Linked DNA regions of Homo sapiens: regions 1 and 2 are each linked to region 3. The links are contacts of gene promoters, found by promoter capture Hi-C in blood cells and fetal thymus (Javierre and others, 2016). All regions are on one chromosome and are shown on one strand. Each heading gives the region's core, a stretch centred on a gene start or on the middle of the fragment in contact. The rest is flanking DNA. Distances are from core to core; before and after follow the strand shown. Region 1 holds the start of SSR1 (signal sequence receptor subunit 1). Region 2 overlaps SSR1 (signal sequence receptor subunit 1). Region 3 holds the start of EEF1E1 (eukaryotic translation elongation factor 1 epsilon 1).

Region 1 (3,695 bases), core at 126-2,625, 790 kb after region 3:
ATGAGTGTTATAACTCATAAAGGCAATATGAGCTTAAAGAGCAAAAGAACAGATATTTTCCCAGCATGGAAAGAAACTGGAGCCTGTTGTCGCTGCTAAGCTCAGGGCAGCCTGCTTTTATTCTTATCTGGCCCCACCCACACCCTGCTGATTGGTAGAGCCGAGTGGCCTGTTTTGACTGGGCACTGATTGGTGCGTTTACAATCCCTGAGCTAGACACAAAGGTTCTCCACGTCCCCACTAGATTAGCTAGATACAGAGCGTGGACGCAAAGGTTCTCCAAGGTCCCACCAGAGTAGCTAGATACAAAGTGTCGATTGGTGCATTCACAAAGCCTGAGCTAGACACAGGGTGCTGATTGGTGTGTTTACAATCCCTGAGCTAGACATAAAGGTTCTCCACGTCTCCACCAGACTCAGAAGCCCAGCTGGCTTCACCCCGTGGAACCCGTACTGGGGCTGCAGGTGGAGCTGTCTGCCAGTCCCATGCCTGTGCACCTGTACTGATCAGCCCTTGGGTGGTGGAAGGAACTGGGCACCGTGCAGCAGGGGGTGGCGCTGGTCGGGGAGATTCCGGCTGCACAGAAGCCCATGGGGTTGGGGGAGGCTCAGACATGGTGGGCTGCAGGTCCCGAGCCCTGCCCCGCGGGAAGGCAGCTAAGGCCCGGTGAGAAATCGAGCACAGCAGCTGCTGGCCCAGGTTCTAAGCCCCTCACTGCCCCCCGCCTGGCCCAGTTGGCCGCTCCCACTGCAGGGCCCGCCAAGCCCACGCCCACCCGGAACTCGCACTGGCTGGCAAGCACCGCGCGTAACCCCAGTTCCCGCCCGCCCACGCCTCTCTCCACACCTTCCCGGCAAGCTGAGGGAGCTGGCTCCGGCCTTGGCCAGCCCAGAAAGGGGCTCCCACAGTGCAGCGGTGGGCTGAAGAGCTCCTCAAGTGCCACCAAAGTGGGGGCCCAGGCAGAGGAGGCGCCGAGAGCGAGCGAGGGCTGAGTACTGCCAGCATGCTGTCACCTCTCAGAAGCTTTGTTTTTTGCAATAAATCTTGCTGCTGCTCACTGCCTTTATGAGCTGTAACACTCACCGCGAAGGTCTGCAGCTTCACTCCTAAAGCCACCGAGACTATGAACCCACCAGGAGGAATGGACACCTTAACAGCTGTAACACTCACTGCGATGGTCTAGTAGCTTCACTCCTGAGCCAGTGAGACCATGAACCCACCAGAAGGAAGAAACTCGGAACACATCCGAACATGATGAAGGAACAAACTCTGGACTTTAAGAACTGTAACACTCAGCACGAGGGTCTGCGGTTTCAGTCTTAAAGTCAGTGAGACCAAGAACCCTATTCCAGACACAGCTCTGACATAGAGTGGCAACACTGGTAGCGTGCACAGGAGCAGAGGCAGCAGCAAAGTGAGAGGAGGCCCTCCACTTATGCTGGGCGCCCTAGTAGCAGCAGCAACACAGCAGCGGTGCCACTGGTGGCCTGGCAGAGTGGAATTTGGTTGATTCAGCCCAGCACCATCAGGCTGTGACTTTAGCAGACTGTAGGTAGTGGTGGCAGTGGGTCCAAGCTGCATTTACAGCCCCCAGGACAAGGAGACCTGAAGCGGAAACAATGCAGGAGTAGAACAGCAAATGTCCTAGGTCAGTAGTGTATGGAATCTGGAACCAGATAGCCTTGTTCAAATCTTGCATCTGCCGTTTGCTAGCGTTTTGAAGCTTTGAGTAAATTACTAACCTCTCTGGGTCTGTTTTCTCCTCAGTAAATAATATCCAGCTCATAGAGAGGTTTAGAAAATTAAATGAAAAAGCACAGCTCTAAGGAGGTGATTGACAATAGTAAGCATATGATTTATTTCCTCATCTTTATGACATCTCACTCTGGTCCAGACCAAGATTACTTAATATTCAGATTAATTTCATGAACTGCTATATTACTCCAGCAACTCAAATCCAAAATAGATGAAAAGGAAACTAAAGAAAACTGGACAGCCATTGCTGCACCTATTGTATAGTTACAAATGCTGACTACATACCAAAACACTGTTTAGGTGACTTATAATTCTGGAATGTCACATACGAATTTAAGAATTGCTGGCCAGGCGCAGTGGCTCACACCTGTAATCCCAGCACTTTGAGAGACCCAGGCGGGTGGATCACCTGAGGTCAGGAGTTTGAGATTAGTCTGGCCAACATGGTGAAACCCCCGTCTCCAGTAAAAATACAAAAATTAGCCGGGCGTAGTGGTGCGCGCCTGTAGTCCCAGCTGCTTAGGAGGCTGAGGCGGGAGAATCGCTTGAACCCGGGAGGCGGAGGTTGCGGTGAACAGAGATGGTGCCACTGAACTCTGGCCTGGGCGACAGAGCAAGACTTCGTCTCAAAAATAATAATTTAAGAATTGTCATTACTTAACCATGGGAGAGGGTGTGGGCAGACAGGGGACAAAGATTTTCCACTGTGTATTTTCATGGTTTTTCCTTTGAACAATGTCCTCTCTTCCAACAAAATTTTTTGCTTTTAAGTGCCACATAAAGGCAGCTCATGTTCCTTACATCGCCGTTATCAAGAGGATCGTCATTCAAATAAAGTAACCACTGACAATGCTAATTAATTGGAAGTAAAGAACTGGGCGGAAAGAACGGCTAACCGCAAGCTGCCGGGTCGCAACTGCGGCGGAAGGCGGACTCTCGCGGGAGCCACAAAGAGGCAGCAGCCGGCCACGTGACTTCCCGGTGGCCTGCTCTCCCCACCTCTCCGCGCTGAGCAGCCACGTCGGCGGCGGTCCCTGGTCCAGGGAGGGGCGTGGCAAAGGCCCGTGCGCGGTACGTGTCCCGCCCCTCGCTGCCCGGAGCCCGGATGAAGAGTAACGCCATTACCGCCGGAGCCGCCGAGAGCCTTAGCCGACGGAAACTGGACACTGGACCGGCAGCGCCATGAGACTCCTCCCCCGCTTGCTGCTGCTTCTCTTACTCGTGTTCCCTGCCACTGTCTTGTTCCGAGGCGGCCCCAGAGGTGAGGCTGGGGGAGTGTGCGGAGGGGATGGCCAGGAAGGAGATGCCAGTGATGGCAAGTTTGAAGTTGGAGGCGGTGGCCGCTCCGGGTCCTGGGGTCCGCGTCCACCCCGCTGGCCTCTCTCCGCCCTCTCCCCAAGCCTAGGCTCGTAGCAGCAGGGGTCCCCGCGGGCGCTGGAGACCCCGCTGCGGCCTGCCCCTTGCACGCGGAGCGCGGGGCCGTGCCCGGGCGACCTTGCTTCGTGGCCGGCCGAGGGCTGGGCTTGCTCCTCTTGCCCTGGACCCTCGCCTGCAGGAGCGGCCAGAACTGGAGGGTCCTCGGCTGCAGGAGGAGGCGCTGGACACGGCTGCGCTCCGAGCGCGCCGCAGCCGGGCTGTTTCTTTTGGCCACCTCCGGCTCCGCTCCACCCCCAGCCCCTCGCGCTCAGGGCTGACGTGTCTTTAGCTTCCACGCCGGGAGTCCGTCTTCATTCATTTGCCAAAACCCTTGTTTTCTACACATCTAAGCCATCAGAGTGTCTTGTTCAATGGTCATCTGCCTTGTTCACGCCCTGCTTGACCCGTATGTGTTACTAGGAGGCTTGATTTCAGAAAAACTACCCCATCGTCACCCCCGTTATCCGCCCCTGCTGCCAAGCAGACTGAAGAATCCCTGTGGGATGTCTCCCTTCTGCCTTCTT
Region 2 (3,879 bases), core at 1-2,500, 820 kb after region 3:
TAGCTTGGATTACAGGCGCCCGTCACCGCACCTGCCTAATTTTTGCATTTTTAGTAGAGACGGGGTTTCGTCATTTGGCCAGGCTGGTCTTGAACTCCTGACCACAGGTGATACGCCTGCCTTGGCCTCCCAAAGTGTGCTGGGATTACAGGCGTGAGCCACTGTGCCCGGCCCACTGTTCACTTTTTGAATGGCATCATTTTATAGCTGTAGAACTAAAATCAATGTTTGCCCCAATTTTCTTAAGTAAAACTCTACTTTGAGCTCTTACCTCCAACTTAGTAAAAAGCAGCTTCACACACAAACAAGATTCTTACTGGTGGAATGTTAGGTTTCGTTGTTAAGTTAATCTGTCTATAAGCTCATCCTTAGAGGATATTTGAGGAGGAAGAACACCTTGCAGCTGACTTGCAAACATCTAAATAATTTATTTCGGGTGCTTATGAATGTTACTAATGGATTTTGTATGAATTTTTATCCCTTTTCATTTATACAAAAACCTGGGCTTTTATGTTAATTATATCATCTGAGGTTCTAAGGTTTTTTTTTTAGATTTTGAAATTTAGGGATAATAGCTCTTAGGTTTGGGTACCACTTTGCTGCAGTTTAAGAAAGGGGGAAGGGAACTCATTTATTAAACATCAATCACGTGCTGTGTTCTGTTTGTTTTCTAGTCATCATATCACACACCTTTACGACAGCTCACTGAAGGAAGGTGATACTGTTCCCATTTTGTAGATGGAATAGACAAAACCTGAATTTAAGTAGCTTGCTCAAGGTTCCATATTGAATATGGAAAGTTCAAATCATCTCAGTAATGAATATACCATATATACTTGCTGTATTGTATCTATGATAATTCAGTTACCCACAATACCCTTTTAAATTTCTGTTAATGACATACCTTTAAATGTCTCCTTGATGAACAGAATCATGGTCTTTAAAAACATTTTCATGGGTTGATTGCATTTTCAAGCTCTAAAGGATTGAAAGATAAATCTTCACGTTAAAGGTAAGAGTGAAGTATCTGCTCTTGGGTTACAGAACCAGATAGTACTAGAACTAAGATTACAGGGTAAAGCTGCTTTTATCTTTTTTCTTTTTCTTTTTCTTTTTTTTTTTGACATGGGGTCTCACTGTATTGCCCAGGCTGGAATGCAGTGGCATGATCTCAGCTCACGGCAGCCTCTGCCTCTTGGGCTCAAGCGATTCTCCTGCTTCAGCTTTCCAAGTATTTGGGACCACAGGCGCACACCACAGGCCTGGCTAATGTTTTTGTTTTGTTTTTGGTAGAGACGGGGTTTCACCATGTTGCCAGGCTGGTCTCGAACTCCTGAGCTCAAGTGATTCACCCACCTTGGCCTCACAAAGTGTCAGGCTTACAGGCGTGAGCCACTGCGCCCGGCTCACAGGGTAAGGCTTCTGTCTGGTGTGTTGTATTACGGATTTTGCTTAATAGGCACAGTGAGGCATTAAAAAGAAAATTCAGTATGCCTGTAGAAAGGATAATCCTTGTTTAAAGTCTCCAAATTGCAGTCAAAGATGTTTTGACTGTGCCTTTTTTTGTTCCCCTGCTGTCCCTTATGTAGACTTCTGTCAGTACCCATGGCAGCCTGTCATCTTGTTGACATCTCCTTCTGGACTGTGAGCTCTGTATCTGGCTTGTTTTTCATCCCCAGCTTCTAGTTCACAATTAGGTAGAACCCTATTACTCTTTGAAGAAGGAACAAGAAAATGTGGGCCAGTTTTCATTTGCCATTCTTCCATGTGAGTTAGTATGGTTCGTAAGTATTCCTGGTGATACGCTAGTATTGGCAATTCTGTGAGGTTGAACAAAGGGGTGGTATGGTGTGCTAGCGTGGGAATTAGGAGACCTCTGGGTCTTGACAGTGCCCTGGCCACTAAGCAAAGGCAGTTCATCCTTGGAGTCTCAATGTGCTTTTTTGTTAATTGAGATATGCTTGAAGTATCAGCCCTAAATAGTCTGATTCTGTGACCTACAAACCCTTACTTAATTCAGTGTTACTATAAATGATTCTTCCCTTAAACCTACTTTTTACTTAGCAAAAGAGAAAAAAAAAAAAAGGAAACGCTCATGTCAGGCTGCCTGGGTTTGAACCCCAGATCCCCTCTTAGTTGGAGGCAAGTTGTATGATGCTTCAGCTTTTGGTTCCTGCCTCCTAAGGTTGTTAGGAGTTACTGTGTGTAGCTGCTTAGAACATTGCCTGGGTCTCAGTAAGCCGCTTAAGTGACTGCTCTCATTTTCGCTGTAAAGCACCATACTGTAATAACATCCCATGAAGCATGGGGCGGGGAAGAGTATATGGTACCTTATGGACTTTGATGTGGTGGGGTAGTAGGTAAATTCTGAATATGTAAGCTACATAGTATTCTTTTTGTAACTAAAGGATAAAAGTTTTAAGATGGGCATGTAATATGGCTAGCACTGGATTTTAATGATGAGCCAGAGTAATAAGGCTGGCAAGGGGAGTTTTTGTTTTGTAATAAATCTCTTACACCTGCACATCCAGTTCTTTTTAAAAACACGTTTGAAGAGGCTCCATATTTCTCAGTGAAGCTGTTGGGGTTCATGTTATTTTTGAAAATCATCTTGCAATTTATTTCAGCATCAGACTGAACCACCCAAAGAAAATTAGTCTATTTCTGAACAGTTTTTTCAGAAACCATATTGGTCTGATCACCCAACATTTATAGAAATAGGCGCTTAAGGCCTAGAGGCATTTCAGAAAGGAGAATGAGAAATACTGTGGTCAAGAGTAGTGTTCAGATGGAGAACATCAAGCATCTGCTCTGCCCTTCCACACACATCCTCATTTCATCTTCACAACTGCCCTAGGTAACCTTGTTATCTGTAATGAAACAGCCTCAAGGAGCACAGAGGCACTCACTCCTCACGTTTGGTCTGTTGCCATTTCCGGCTTGGTTGGAATAGGGTAGGAGCCTTTTGGCAGGGAGCACATTCTCAGTAATGCAGAGTGCACTCACCTGGGTTCTAGCTTCAACACTTAGGATTTGCTTGATATTTTGTATTCTCTGAGGCACTGCCTGTATTTGTTTCTGCTATCACAGTCCAGAGTCAAGCTTCATTTATAAAGACTGGGCAGGGCATGGTGGCTCACTCCTGTAATTCCAGCACTTTGGGAGGCTGAGGTGGGTGGATCACTTTAGGTCAGGAGTTCAAGACCAGCCTGGCCAACATGGTGAAACCCCATCTCTACTAAAAAATACAAAAAGGCCGGGCACGGTGGCTCACACCTGTAATCCCAACACTTTGGGAGGCCAAGGTGGGCAGAACACCTGAGGTCAGGAGTTCAAGACCATCCTGGCGAACATAGTGAAACCTCGCCTCTACTAAAAATACAAAAATTAGCCAGGTGTGGTGGTGCATGCCTGTAATCCCAGCTACTTGGGAGGCTGAGGCAGGAGAATTGCTTAAACCTGGGAGGTGGAGATTGTGGTGAGCTGAGATCGTGCCACTGCACTCCAGCCTGGGAGATAGAACGAGACTCCATCTCAAAAAAGAACAAAAACAATTAGCCGAGCGAGGTGGTGCACGCCTGTAATCCCAGCTACTCATGAGGCTGAGGCAGGAGAATCACTTGAACCCAGGAGGAGGAGGTTGTAGTGAGTCAAGGTTGCACCACTGCACTCCAGCCTGGGTGACAGAGTGAGACTGTCTCAAAAAATAAGTACATAAATAATAAGTAAAAGCTACTAACAATTAAAAAATAAATAAATAAAGACAAGACTGTCTGGAAAATGGCTCTCCTAAAAGGACCAGTTGCCATCATCCACAGTGGAAGATTCAAAGCAGTTGGTCCTTGGTACGTATGAGAAGCGGATTTCATTCCCTTGAAT
Region 3 (3,435 bases), core at 631-3,130:
TTTGGATTCAGCCGGTCTCCAAAGAGCCCCCATTTCTTTTTGTGGGAAATAGTATTTGAAACCAGAATCTGGGTGCTGGGGTGCTCATTGCTACTGAGTTGTCCTTGTTTCTAGGCCTTTTAAGTAAACAGAGCTAGGTAGGAAATACTTTTCATTTTCCTTAAGATAAAAGCGTCATAAGTTCATATTGATATTACAATTCAAATTCAGGACCAGAAAGTTTTGATTTAACCTCATCTACCTTACAACTCCTCTTTTGGGCAACACCAAACACCCAACTTTCCAGCAACACCACATGATTGCATCTTTGCTTTATTCCACAGTACATATACAGCACCATACCAATGCTGACACTGCCAAGATGCTAACCAAACCAACAAACAAAAAGAACCAAAAACAGGTTTTCATGAATTTTGTCCTTAAAGCATATCTTACTAAGAGTATACAATTAAATGACTGTGCTATAAAGTCACTTAAAAGAGGTCCACACTGGGTGATGATGTCATCAATTTGATGTACAATATGCTTTGTTCTGCTTTCAGTTTTTTAGGGATTTCTTTTTTAATTTGATATTTCTATAATTATGCAAAGGCCAAACCTTATTTTCAATATACCACCCATTGGCATTGGATAAATGTTAATTTTTTTAAAAAATGTTTTATTACAAGCAAAAAGTGTACCTAAACCCTGAAAATGGATATGTGAATTATCTTAGAGGGTTGGTCTTTTAAAAAGTAGTAGAATAGTCATTCCATTATCTGAATATGGAAAGTAAAACAGATAATTTAGTGCCTAACAATCCACTTATACTGAAATTTCTTTTGTATTTTGTTATGTTGATTTGGCAAAAGTTTCTTTTCCTTATGTTTACTTCTGCTGACAGAGTAAACTCATTAAGTATTCTGGGATAGGGAAGGTGTAACACAGTAACAACATTCCCCACTAAACTTTGATATTTCTGATTCAATGATGAGTTACCTTGTAGGATTGTTCTATTTCTCTCAGACTAATACACACTTTGTTTATTCATTCTTCAAAGTGGAAAATATTTTGTATTTTCACAAATCTTTTGGAAATATTCAACATATACTACTAATTTTCTTTCTTTCTTCCTTTCTTTCTTTTTTGAAGATACAAGAATGTAGCAAGTTAGTGGGGCAAAGTTATGCACCTTGTTTATTTATATACCAAAACTTCATAAATTATGTAACCAGCCTTCTGGTACTGCAAAAAAAGATCATTAATGCCATTAATGGCTTATTTCCTTGAGCTGTAATTATTTGACCCCTATCTGACATACTCCGTGTTCTGTGAATAATCTTTAAATGTATAATTCTACTGCTAGTGTTGAGCTGTAGATCAACAGTAGAAAAACCAGTTTTTCGAATTCACCACTACAACACAATTAAAATCCTCATGAATTATGCTACACGTTAGAAACTCCTAATGGACTGTGAACTTTTTGCTATTCAATTTGATTGTTCAAATTTACAGATTCCTGAACCAAACTAAGGCAAATTTCAGTTCCCATCATATATAAATTCTCTTAGACTAGCAAATGAGTTAACGAGTTACCGCTGGCAGCCATGTCAATAGATTGCCATTTAGAGATCCAGATCCAGTCTACTGCAGCCACCGAAGCCCGGCCTTGGGGCCTTTCTACCAGTAACTAGCTCCCCAACAGTTCGAGTGGAAATTTACCATCACTTCTCCACCTGTCTCACACCCCGCCCTCAGCCCCGCCCCTTCCACCGGCCCCGCCTCCTGTGCTTTGGCGCGCGCTCTCCACGCCCCTTCCGTTCAGCCAATCGCCGCTGAAGTTTGCAGGAGTGGGACTTCTGTTTCCACCAATGCGGGAGGTTCTTGTTCTGCAGGTCTCGCGTCTGCCAGGAGCTACGGCCGGAAGATGGCGGCGGCCGCAGAGTTGTCGCTACTGGAGAAGTCCCTGGGACTGAGTAAGGGGAATAAATACAGTGCTCAGGGCGAGCGACAGGTGAGAAGGAGAGGCGGCGCGGAGGGGAAGAGGTGGACGGGAGCGGGGCCTGCCGAGCCCTGGCAGGACCCGGGCCGGCCACCAGATACGGGCGGAGTGAGGATGCTGCTACCCAGCTCCCCACGTGTCTGCGCCGCTAGCCGGCTGGCGCCTCTGGGCCTCGGCCCCTGCCATCCTACCTCCTGGAGGGAGGGGTTAACCAGCTCAGGTTGGGCTTGGCCTGAACTTCACCTCCTGGGAAATTGTCATCATCCCATTATGAGGAAACAAAACCAGTTGGAGGAGGGTCCTCACAGGGCTCTTAGACCAACCTGGAATGTATTCAGTAACTGGCTTTTTTTTTTTTCCCGTAATCGCACCTTTCATTCAGTTATTGCGCAGCGACTCCGTTATAGCTAACAGGGTGCCAGGTAGCACCGTGCTGGGTCTGGGGAATACAATGATGATTTAGGGGAACATGCTTCCTCCTCTCAGGCAGCTTGCTTTTTGGCCAGGTGGACAAACATTGCAACCATTTAAATTGGAAGAGTGCCACGTTGCACCATAAATGGCAGAGAGAACACCTAAGGAGTCTTGGCCCAATCTAGGGGATTCGGGGAAGGCGTTTCTAAAGCCTTGGATTATCAGTTTAAGTGTTACGACCCACAGTGAATGCGGGAAACATCACAAGGTATGAGATTGCCTGGTTAGGCACTGTTAGAACGTTTGTGTTTTATAGTTGTTTGTCGTAGAAGGAATGTATTAGAGAAGGAAATTGGTTGTAGGAAGACTACTTTGGATATATGTTTTTTTTGCTCCTTTGAGATTTTTTCCAAATGATGTTTGGTTTTTGTCTTTAATTTTTTCTCTTCTTCATTTGGTCCATGTGAAGATCTTGTCTAGAAAGTAGTAGTATAGTTTTTATTTAAGTTAACCTGAAGCCTAGAAAGGTTAAGTGTTCAGCCTAAGATCAGCCCTGTGATTGGTGGCAGAGTAGGCGTTGGAGCCAAAGTGGCCTTCTTTTGGTGTTTCCTCTGCCCCAGTGATAATTCCGTCCCTTCGGCCCCTACTCCCTAGCTTAGTGTATATATTATATAATATATATGTAGTATAAATATAATATATATGGCCGAGTGGACAAACATTGCAACCGTTTAAATTGGAAGAGTGCCATATATATATATATATATATATATATATATATATATATATTTTTTTTTTTTTTTTTTTGAGACAAAGTCTCACTGTGTCGCCCAGGCTGTAGTGCCATGGCATGATCTCGGATCACTGCAACCTCTGCCTCCCGGGTTCAAGCGATTCTTCTGCTTCAGCCTCCCAAGTAGCTGGGGTTACAGGTGTTCGCCACCACGCTCAGCTAATTTTTGTATTTTTAGTAGAGACCGGGTTGCACCATGTTGGCCAGGCTGGTCTTGAACTGGTGACCTCAGGTGATCCACATGCCC

What was found. The method cuts DNA at HindIII sites, captures the fragments that hold promoters and counts their contacts. A CHiCAGO score of 5 or more calls a contact.
Region 1: a fragment that was not itself captured here is called in contact with the fragment with the promoter of EEF1E1 in region 3 in 1 of 17 cell types (total CD8 T cells); the score reaches 5.8 in total CD8 T cells.
Region 2: a contact is called between a fragment that was not itself captured here and the fragment with the promoter of EEF1E1 in region 3, in 1 of 17 cell types (naive CD8 T cells). The highest score is 5.1, in naive CD8 T cells.

The regions. Positions count from the first base shown.
Region 1 is chr6:7,312,363-7,316,057 of GRCh38, reverse strand. It overlaps SSR1 (signal sequence receptor subunit 1), which reads left to right and starts at 2,859. Exons shown (of 8, transcript NM_003144.5): 1 at 2,859-3,016. The coding sequence starts at 2,938. RefSeq lists enhancers at 2,484-2,543, 2,554-2,623, 1,960-2,826, 2,827-3,695 and silencers at 3,114-3,223, 3,354-3,403. The HindIII fragment of the contact is 700 bases long and covers 1,026-1,725 here.
Region 2 is chr6:7,282,922-7,286,800 of GRCh38, reverse strand. SSR1 (signal sequence receptor subunit 1) reads left to right here. Exons shown (of 8, transcript NM_003144.5): 8 at 1-3,879. Among named protein-coding and RNA genes, the nearest start is that of SSR1, 28 kb to the left of the region's middle. The HindIII fragment of the contact is 3,708 bases long and covers 1-3,104 here.
Region 3 is chr6:8,100,993-8,104,427 of GRCh38, reverse strand. It overlaps EEF1E1 (eukaryotic translation elongation factor 1 epsilon 1), which reads left to right and starts at 1,880. Exons shown (of 4, transcript NM_004280.5): 1 at 1,880-1,993. The coding sequence starts at 1,907. It overlaps EEF1E1-BLOC1S5 (EEF1E1-BLOC1S5 readthrough (NMD candidate)), which reads left to right and starts at 1,833. Exons shown (of 7, transcript NR_037618.1): 1 at 1,833-1,993. RefSeq lists silencers at 1,628-1,827, 1,968-2,087, 2,296-2,481. The HindIII fragment of the contact is 8,997 bases long and covers 1-3,435 here.